Regions from separate parts of the Homo sapiens genome. Here region 1 is linked to region 2. The links are contacts of gene promoters, found by promoter capture Hi-C in blood cells and fetal thymus (Javierre and others, 2016). All regions are on one chromosome and are shown on one strand. Each heading gives the region's core, a stretch centred on a gene start or on the middle of the fragment in contact. The rest is flanking DNA. Distances are from core to core; before and after follow the strand shown.

Region 1 (4,500 bases), core at 555-3,054, 2.7 Mb after region 2:
AACATTTTCGTACCTATTATTGTTCCTCACAATCCTCTTATAAAACCAGATTGGTTATCCCACTTTACTCTGTTCTCTATGGGAATCCTGGTTCTCTGCAACCCCTCCCACATTTCCCCATCCTCCCTGGCCCCAGGCCACACTTACAATATGTGTCTGCATGGGCTATATATTTATATATTTTTTTTTAAAAAAAGCTTTGCTAAGTATCTCTCTGTATATAAAGTGCTTATTCCTATCCCAATGAAGACTTCCCACATTTCATGCACCCACCCACCTGCACCTAGATTAAGCAAGCAATACACCATCTGTACAACTTCATTCCATAATTAGTCTTAATTCTGACCCTGCAGAGGCCACTGATGGCCCTCACTATTCCTCTAAAACCTGGAAGCCAAACAGGCTCTGACATCTTCTGAGGCACAACTACCCTTCATGACACTGGATGTGCTAACACTGGGAACTGTACTCTCTATCTACCAAAGCAGTAAGACAAAACTGAATTTATAACTTAAAAACCCTCTGGAGGCAGTGGGTCATGCCTGTAATCCCAACTATTCAGGGGACTGAGGCAGTAGGATTGCTTGAGGCCAGGAGTTCAGTAACATGCTGGGGAATACAGGCTGGTGTGGATCTCATCTCTACAAAGGAAAATTAAAAAATAAACTCTTTGGCTCTACCTAGATATCCATGTACTATTTCAAAATATTGACCCAACTGCTAAGACAAAAAACATCTAGCAAAACACTGATACAATCATAAATATGTAAAATGATTTTTATAAACGATCATCTTGATTTCTCTCCAAAATTCACTGACCCTAAACAAACTTACTAAGCCAGAGAAATAGGTCCCAAAACCAGGAACAAAGAACTCAAAGAAATTCTATTTGTCTAGCAACTTTCGAATATTAAAAAGCAATAAATGACTGTGGAGCAGTAGTACCAAAATAATTACTAAGGGAGCTGTTTCAGTGTGTCAGAACTTTGACAACTAAATGAGGACCACAAACATTTTTACTCTCATTCTATGTACTTCATGTTACACTCTACATTGTTCACTAGTCTAGGTGAAACAATACATGAAGTATAAAGGAATGTTATTTACAAAAAAACCTTTGAAGTTTTTGCCCATTAATTTCATCAGATGCTCTGAAATAATTTGCATCCCTGGGCACAAATTTCATGCCTTCCTTCATAATACCCACAGTATGTAACAATTATTAGTAACTCACGTAAGTATGGCAAAAGATGCAAAACAAGAACACAAAAATGGAATGCAAAAGGAAAACAACACATTTACATGGCAGTTTATAAACAAGCGAAGGCCCGAGAAATAAATTTTAGCAACTAAATTCAATTTTTTCCATAAACCAAAGTTGGATTACCTTACCGACAAATCATGTACAAATGCTTGTGAAACAGGCTTTCTTAGAATAAACCCATTTCGAATCACTCAGCACAGTTAAAAAACAAAAAATTAAAATCTTTTGTATAGAAAAGCCTTTTAAAAACCCAAGAGATGTCTTTCACACAGACTCGACCCTGATTTTGCACGAAATGGGCTGTTGATTTGGCTTAATTTTATCACACACCACACTTGCCACAGTAGTTAAGGGAAGACAGAGGCAGGCTAACAACAACAACAACAAATCACAAATACAACAATATATTTCAATTTGAGAGCAGGTACTGTTTATTAACCAACCAGCTTAGAAAAATAATCATGGTAGACACCTGAAAGGAAAAAAGAAAACCATTAGAAAACACTTTAGGCAGCTAACAATTAACATAAACTAGGCAGTTATAAAGTAATGATTGAGTTTACATTTTTAAGACCACCCAATTTCCATCTTTAAAGACTCCCCAAAACAGGCTTTTCCTTTCCTCCAGAAAGGTCCTCAAAAGCAGTAAACAAACCAACTGTAATCATTAAGATAGTTGACCCCCACTCCCCACAAAAGCACTGATTAAAATTCAAACCCCCATCAATATTTAATGGGAAAAGTATTCAAGATTACCACCACTTATACTCTAACATTAACTCAACCTTTCTCAGGATGAGGTCTCTCACCTTAGTTCATTCTTCTAATAAGCCTGTTGATCTGGTCCTCCCTGTTGCCAGCATCTCCACCTTCTACAAAATGGGTGGTCTTTTTCTTCATTCCACCTCGTGGAGAAGACAATTTGAAGGGCCACAGGAAGTTATTTGCCTCTTTGAAGCGTTTTCCAACAGTATAGATCTCATGAATCAAATCCTCCATGCAGATGATGCCGTATTTACCTAAATATTTTAAGGTTATTTAAGATTATTAAAGTTGCAAAAAGTTTTGAAATAATTATTCAAAATCTTTTTGAATAGGCTGTGAGATGAAAACATAACCAGGAATAAACAAGGTAAATGCATGGCTTTACAAAGATAAGGTTCAAGCTAATGAAACCATGTCTTACGTTTTCTTTTAAGCTAAATCAAGAATCATAGGGAACACATGAAGATTCACAATAGTGAGAAATGTACGGCCACAAGAGGGTAAGAAATTATCGCATGGTCTAATACCAAATTTTCCCCCAAATAGAACCTACCAAGAGATCGAGCAATCAAAGCGTTATCTGTCAAAGCAATTCGCTTCTTATTGATTTTGCCATAACCACGCTTGTAGATTAGTTCATTTACTGACTTCAGATTGGGGTACCTGAAGTGAAAAAGCAAACATAAATAAGGTGACCACTGTTAAAACATCTAAAATTCATGTTGCTACATAACCAATTTATCAAATAGAAATCAAAGGAGAAAAGAGACTTACCCCCATGCAATATATGGCTCTACAATCCTCAGCATGTTAATCGAAGCCTTGTTGAGCTTCACAAAGGTTCCATTGAAGATTTGACGAAGGCGAAGAAGCTGCAACACCTTTCGAACCTTTGGGCTCACTCCATTGATACTGTGGTGAAAACGGACCAGAAATGCATTTGCCTTTCATCGAAATTTTTATTAATACTAACCATTATAGTTTTGAATATCGAATCCTACCTAAACAGATAGGAATCCTCTCATGTTACACACTGAATTTCTGTATTCTATTAAGAGAAGGGATAGGAGCTTGGGGAACATGGCTTGCAACTAAACCATTAGTGATCAGCACCCTCCTTGTTCTAGCTTCCCCTAAAATATTGTTACTCCGGTGTTTCAGAATCAGGGCTCCCAGAAGTAATGTGAAGGTTTTTTTTTTTTTTCCCATTCAAACCCGAATGCAGTAAAACTGAACTTACCCTCTGATTCTGATGACAAACGCCAATTTGGGTTCTGCAGGTACATAGAAGTTGCCAGCTTTTCTTGCCATCCTCGCCATTCGAATTTCAGTTCTGTACATCTGCCTATATTCCTTGTGATAGTGCTTTGCTTTTTCATAGATAAGCTTCCTCCTTGCCTTTCGAAGCTGAAAACCAATAATCAGTTATTCATAATTTTTAGCTCAATCACAATTAGCAATGCCAATCATTAAAAAGAAAACTACAACATGTTTCCTTTAAATCTTTTCTTGCCACAGTATGCAATTACATCCCCCACCAAAAAACCCCACTACCTTCAGATTGTAACATTAGGTAGCTAAGCAATTACTCAGTACAGTTAGGAAGTAAATCTTGCCAAGAACATTCACCTCATCCTCAATCCCAATAAGGCGCCTCCTTATGTGCTAGTGCCTCAAAAAGTTTACTTACCATCTTTTGGGCAAACTTCTTTCTCAGGCGCTTGATCTTCAGCTCTGCGAAATTCCTTCGCTTTTTCTTAAGGGTTTCTGGCACAGCAGGAACCTCCTTCTTCTTCTCTCTAACGTTAATAAACAAAAATGTTATCAATAGCTCAAAAAGCTCACAGCGCTGTATTACTCCCGTACTGAGCAGTGTTGTTTACCAGAAATGCTGTCACTGACTTTAGTCACTAGTAACTTTACTTGCTCTGGCATGCTACAGTGTACGATGCATATTTTAGCTCCATGTCAATAACCTTTAACACCATGTTGCCTAAAACGCAATCACAAATATGACAATAGCAATACGTTTTTCCCTATTTCAACCAAGAGGCCCGGCCTCCGACGACTAATTAAAAAAAAAAACAAAAAAAACACACCAACACCCGAATAACAAAATGTACTAGCTGAAAGACTACTGCAAGGCACTGACCCCGAGACTTTAAGCGCAAAAATTAAAAAATAAAAATAAAAAAAAAACAAGCCACCACCACTCTGGTTCAATCAGGATCCACATGTTGAAAGCAAAGGCCTGGCGGCAGGGAGGCCTGTACCAAGCACCAGCCAAGGACGAACACAATTCAGAGGTTCTGCGCCTCCCCCGAAAGACCCTCTACCGAGGACTGGGCCGTCAGCCAACCGACGGGTTCCACACACATTCCAACCCGACATCTCGTTCCCGGGATCTCCAAAACCTCCGTCCTAAGACCGCCCGCATCCCAACCCTAGCCTCAGGTCCCCACTGGTGTCAC
Region 2 (4,675 bases), core at 1,045-3,544:
AGTACTACTTTAAGGTCAAAGCAGAAAGTACATGCAAGTATCAAATTCAGAAAGTGAATACAAATGTTTAACATTGGGTTTTTTTTGAGACAGGGTCTTCTTGCTCTGTCCTTCAGGCTGGAGTGCAGTGGTGAAACCTTGGCTCACCGCAGCCTCCACCTCCTGGGCTCAAGTAATTATCCCACCTCAGCCGCCCAGCTGAGACCACAGGTGCGTGCTATCTATCACTCCTGGCTAATTTTTAAAAAATCATTTGTAGAGACAGGGTCTCCCTATGTTGCCTAGGCTGGTCTCGAACTCCTGGGCTCCAGTGATTCTCCTGCCTTGGCCTCCCAAAGTGTTGGGATGTTTACAGGCATAAGCCAGAGCACCAGGCCTAGCACTGTATTTACCTTCACACCATATCATCTGATACTTGCAAAAAATGGCTGTGAGGAGAACAGTACAGGTGATATTATTTCCTGATAAAGAGCAGAAAAATTGAGGCTCAGACTTGGGTCACCCAGTAGGTAGGTGGCACAGCCCAGACTTAAAGCTTGAGAATGTTAGTTTCCTTCTACCTACCCTTTAACTATACCTGCTACCTCCTTAGCAGTGGTTTCAAACATGCATGACACAATCAGGAGTAAATAATATCTGTATCTAGATCCAGAAAAGCCCATTTGATGAGAGGCGAAAATAAGGTTAAAATATTATTTAATTTTAAAATTAAAAAAAAAAACAAATATGCTCCATTAAAAAGAAAATGTATTCACCTTTTGGTCACTGGTAATATCATTCCATTAGGTTTTCTCAAGGATTCTTAACGTCGCTCATCTTTTTTTAAGCACTCCTATGTCCCAGGCACTATCCTAGACTCTGGAAATACAGACTCGTAAAAATACTCCAAAATCTCTACTCTCACTTGTTACATGCAGGAGAGAGGAGACAAAACAAGGCAGGAGCAAAATAATTTGTATATTTACTGAGACATAAAGGCTCCAGAGAAAAATTAAAAAGGGAAAAAAGCAAAGGAATGAGCGTGTGTATTGGGGAGCGAGGGGAAAAACGTAGGATGTTACTCGTTCACCTTGCAAAGTTTATCATCCACATTCAACAGCTGTTAAATAAGTCATCAAAATACTAGATACGTGGGAAGAGAATTTACACACTCCTGACATTCCCATCCTCTCCTACTTCAAGAAACAAAATTACTCGATTCCTTGGCACCGCTGTTCAGAACCTCGATTTATCCATCAGACCTTGTTTCTTTAAAGCGTCAGGGCAAAAAGTTCGTTAACTGGTAATAATATCAGTTTAAAAGACAAAAATGAAAACAATCTGGCGCGCCTCCACTGCGCCGGTGCCCGGCGGCCACCGCCCTTCAAGTCGAAAGCAGATGCCTGACTCCGGTTTCTCGCTCACCCCAATCTCGGAGCTACCGGGGGCTCCCCTGTCACTCGGGGCCTGTGGTCTCCAGGCCGGCACTCCTCAGACCCGGGGGCCGGGCCTCGGCCTTCCCCGGCCCTCGCGGGGCTGACGCTCACCGCGGCCGAGGCTGGCAGTCCCCCCAAGTCCGCCCACCCGCCCCGAGCCAGCTCGGCAGCGCAGGGGCCGCCCCCGCCCGCAGGCCCCTCGCCGGCTGCCACGTAACCCTTCGCGGGAACCAGGAACTGCGCCGCGCAGCCTGCGGGAGGGGGCGGCGGCGGGTCAGGAAGGGGGCGACGCGGCGGTCCCCACCCCCTGCGGGCCGCGATGAGGCCCACCGGGACTTTGCATCTCCGGGCCGGCCGCCGGGGAGCTGCCGCCGACGTGGGGCAGGGCAGGGAAGGCCTGCACCTCAGGGACTGGGGGTCTGCACCCACCCCGGGCCCGAGCCCCCCGCGTCCTGGGCGGAGAAGCCGGGGCTGGCATCTGGAGCCCGGGCCCGGGCTGGAGGTGGCGGGGCAGGCGGTTGGGACTCGGGGCGGGCTCACCTCAAACATGAGCCCCAGCAGGAAGACCATCGCCACACAGGAGACGATGTCCGCGTGATTCTGCAGGACGAATTCGTGGCTCAGCACTGGGGGGCTCTTGGTGCTTTTCTTGCGAATCGCCATGGTGGGGCCGCCGCCCGCGCCTGCAGGTGCTCCGCCCCGGTTCTGCTCTTCCCAGCTGCTCACCGACTCGCCGCCGCCTCCCGCTGGCTGCTCCTCACGGCCCCGCTGCAGCCGCTCGCTGGGGCTTCACTTCCCATCCCACAGCCAGTACGCAGCCGCCGGGCCGCCCGGGGGAAAAAAAAAAACACAACAGCTAGCCCGCAGCGGGGGCGAGCATGCGCACCAGGGAGACGACGCTCCCTGGTGCCGCGGCCGCCTCCGCGAGCCCACAGCGCCACCTGGGGACCGGAGGCCGCTGGCCCGCGGCCGGGCGAGCGTGCAGGAATGTGAGCGGCGCTTCCCTGCTTCGCGCCGGGCCCGGGTTTGGGAGTCGTTTGAGGCGCGAGCTTCCTGCGCCTGCTCAGCAGCCTGAGGCCGCGGCCGGGTGCCCTCCTGCCCTCCTGGCCATCCAGGGATTGGGTGTCAGTGGCCTGTTGCACATTGTCACTTCTACAAGTGACTAACACCGTCAGGATAATCTAAAACTACGAATACTACCTGACTCCACAAGGGTACGGTGTATTCTCCAGTTTTAGCATCTGCCTTAAAAATTACCTCAGAGTTAAGCACTGCTGGGGACTTATTTCTACTCTTGGTAAGTTTGGACTAACTTAAAAAAAAAAAAAGAGCTGACCCTATTCTGGTCTGCCTCTCCGTCCCCACCCCCATCCCCGTCCCCATCCCCACCCCTATCCCCCACTGGCCTCAGACTGAAGACGAAGGGATCAGTTTGGGTTTACTGGCTTCACATATATTCAAATTAACAACATGTTTTAGTAATCTAAGGGAAATAGTAAAAGAGTTAAAAAGGATCGTGGATTAAGACACGTCCTCCTCTTATCGTTTTGCCCAAACCTGGAGTCCTTTGTATTCTTTTTCCTGAAGAATTGCTCTCCTGTTTACCCATAAGCCAAATGTAGAAACCAAAGTCATGCTAGATTGAGCCCTTTCAGCGCCCTTCCACATCCAGTCATCACCAATTCGAGGCAGACCTATCACCCCGCTTCCCCACTACCGCAGTCCGAGGGTACTTGCCTCTTGCCTACAATATTACAACTCTGGTGTAACCACTTAGTGGTTTAAGAATGTGGGTTGTTAAATCAGAATTCTGCCACTTATTACTTGTACGATCAAGGACAAGTTACTTAATCTCTATGGGACCCGATTTCCTCATTTTTAAAAATGTATTCATTTATGTACTTACTGAGGGTTGACTGTGTCCTGGGCACTGGGGATACAGAACTGAAATACAAATTAAATTATTCCTAGGGACTTATCATTCTAGTGTGGGAGAGAATCTTTAAACAAGATTTCAAAAGCGAAACAGATGTTAAATTGAGTTGAGCAACCAGGAGAAAAATAAAGCAAGGGGAATAGGAAAGTGCGAGGCACTTATACTTGCCTGAAGACCTGCAGGAGGTGAGGGAGCAAGCCCTGTGGATATCATCTATAAAGTGGGGATAACTATTGCTCATTTTAGTGATTAAATGAGATGATTGAAGGAAACTGCTTAGCGGGGAGTAAGGGCTTTATAAATTTAGTCAGGGATTATTCTTTTCCTCCTTCTGGGCAATCACTAGTTTCATTTCCCTTCAGATCACCTTTCAACGTTTATACTAGAATGATGCTTCTACTGGCAGAAAGTTTTTCAGCGGGTTCCCTTTCCCTTCATGGAAAGCTAGCATGATGAAATAGCCCTTTCTGATTTGGTCCTTGCCTACCCCAACAGACTGGAGCCCTGCATCTACAGGCCATAATCTCTGTACCAGCATTATTGACTACACACACTATACAGTTGCCTCTCCATATCTGTGGGTGCCGCATACACTGTGGATTCAACCAACCTGGAGTAAAAGATATTCAAGAAAAAAACTGCATTTGTACTGAACATCTACAGACTACCCCCCCATGATTATTCCCTAAATAATATAGTACAGCCAACTATTTATTTAGCAGTTATGTTGTGTTATTATAAGTAATCTAGAAATGATTGGAGGTCTGTGGGAGGATTTAGGATATTCTTTACCAGAATATTGCATCATCTTATATAAGGCACCTGAGCATGGGTGGATTTCGGTATCCGCGGGGGCCCTGGAACCAGTCCCCTGTGAAGACTGAGGGACGACTGTACATGCCATGACATGCTCTCTTCCCATGCTCTCCCCTGCCTTTGCGTGTACTGCTGTCTCTGTCTGGAATGTTTTCTCCTGTCCTTTCATAGACACAGCAGGCTCCTGCTGTTCCTTCATGTCTCATTTACACATGACCTCTTCGAAAGCTTCACTGAATTCTGTGACCTAAGCAATTTATCTTTTATGATTCAATTGCATTTTTGAAATAGTTTTATTGCAGTATAATTTATGTCATATAGTTCAGCTATTTGAGATATTCAATTCTGTGGTTTTTAGTATGTTTGCAAAGTTGTGCAACAATCACCATAATATAACTTTAGAACATTCTTGTAATCTCTAAAAGAAACCTTATACACATTACCAGTAACTCTCCATTTCCCCTCATAGTCTTGGCAGCCCTTGGCAACAACTGACCTATTTTCTACC

What was found. The method cuts DNA at HindIII sites, captures the fragments that hold promoters and counts their contacts. A CHiCAGO score of 5 or more calls a contact.
Region 1: a fragment that was not itself captured here is called in contact with the fragment with the promoter of TRAM1 in region 2 in 1 of 17 cell types (naive CD8 T cells); the score reaches 5.2 in naive CD8 T cells.

Annotation. Positions count from the first base shown.
Region 1 is chr8:73,288,970-73,293,469 of GRCh38, forward strand. RPL7 (ribosomal protein L7) reads right to left here. Exons shown (of 7, transcript NM_000971.4): 2 at 3,720-3,828; 3 at 3,270-3,436; 4 at 2,804-2,941; 5 at 2,583-2,692; 6 at 2,074-2,283; 7 at 1,273-1,736. The coding sequence ends at 2,075. Among named protein-coding and RNA genes, the nearest start is that of RPL7, 2.4 kb to the right of the region's middle. RefSeq lists enhancers at 3,916-4,500, 4,246-4,295, 4,306-4,500. The HindIII fragment of the contact is 3,218 bases long and covers 196-3,413 here.
Region 2 is chr8:70,606,122-70,610,796 of GRCh38, forward strand. It overlaps TRAM1 (translocation associated membrane protein 1), which reads right to left and starts at 2,295. Exons shown (of 11, transcript NM_014294.6): 1 at 1,956-2,295. The coding sequence starts at 2,078. LACTB2-AS1 (LACTB2 antisense RNA 1) reads left to right here and starts at 2,456. Exons shown (of 4, transcript NR_038881.1): 1 at 2,456-2,712. RefSeq lists silencers at 1,342-1,791, 1,812-1,991, 2,042-2,101, 2,162-2,211, 2,292-2,461. The HindIII fragment of the contact is 3,860 bases long and covers 534-4,393 here.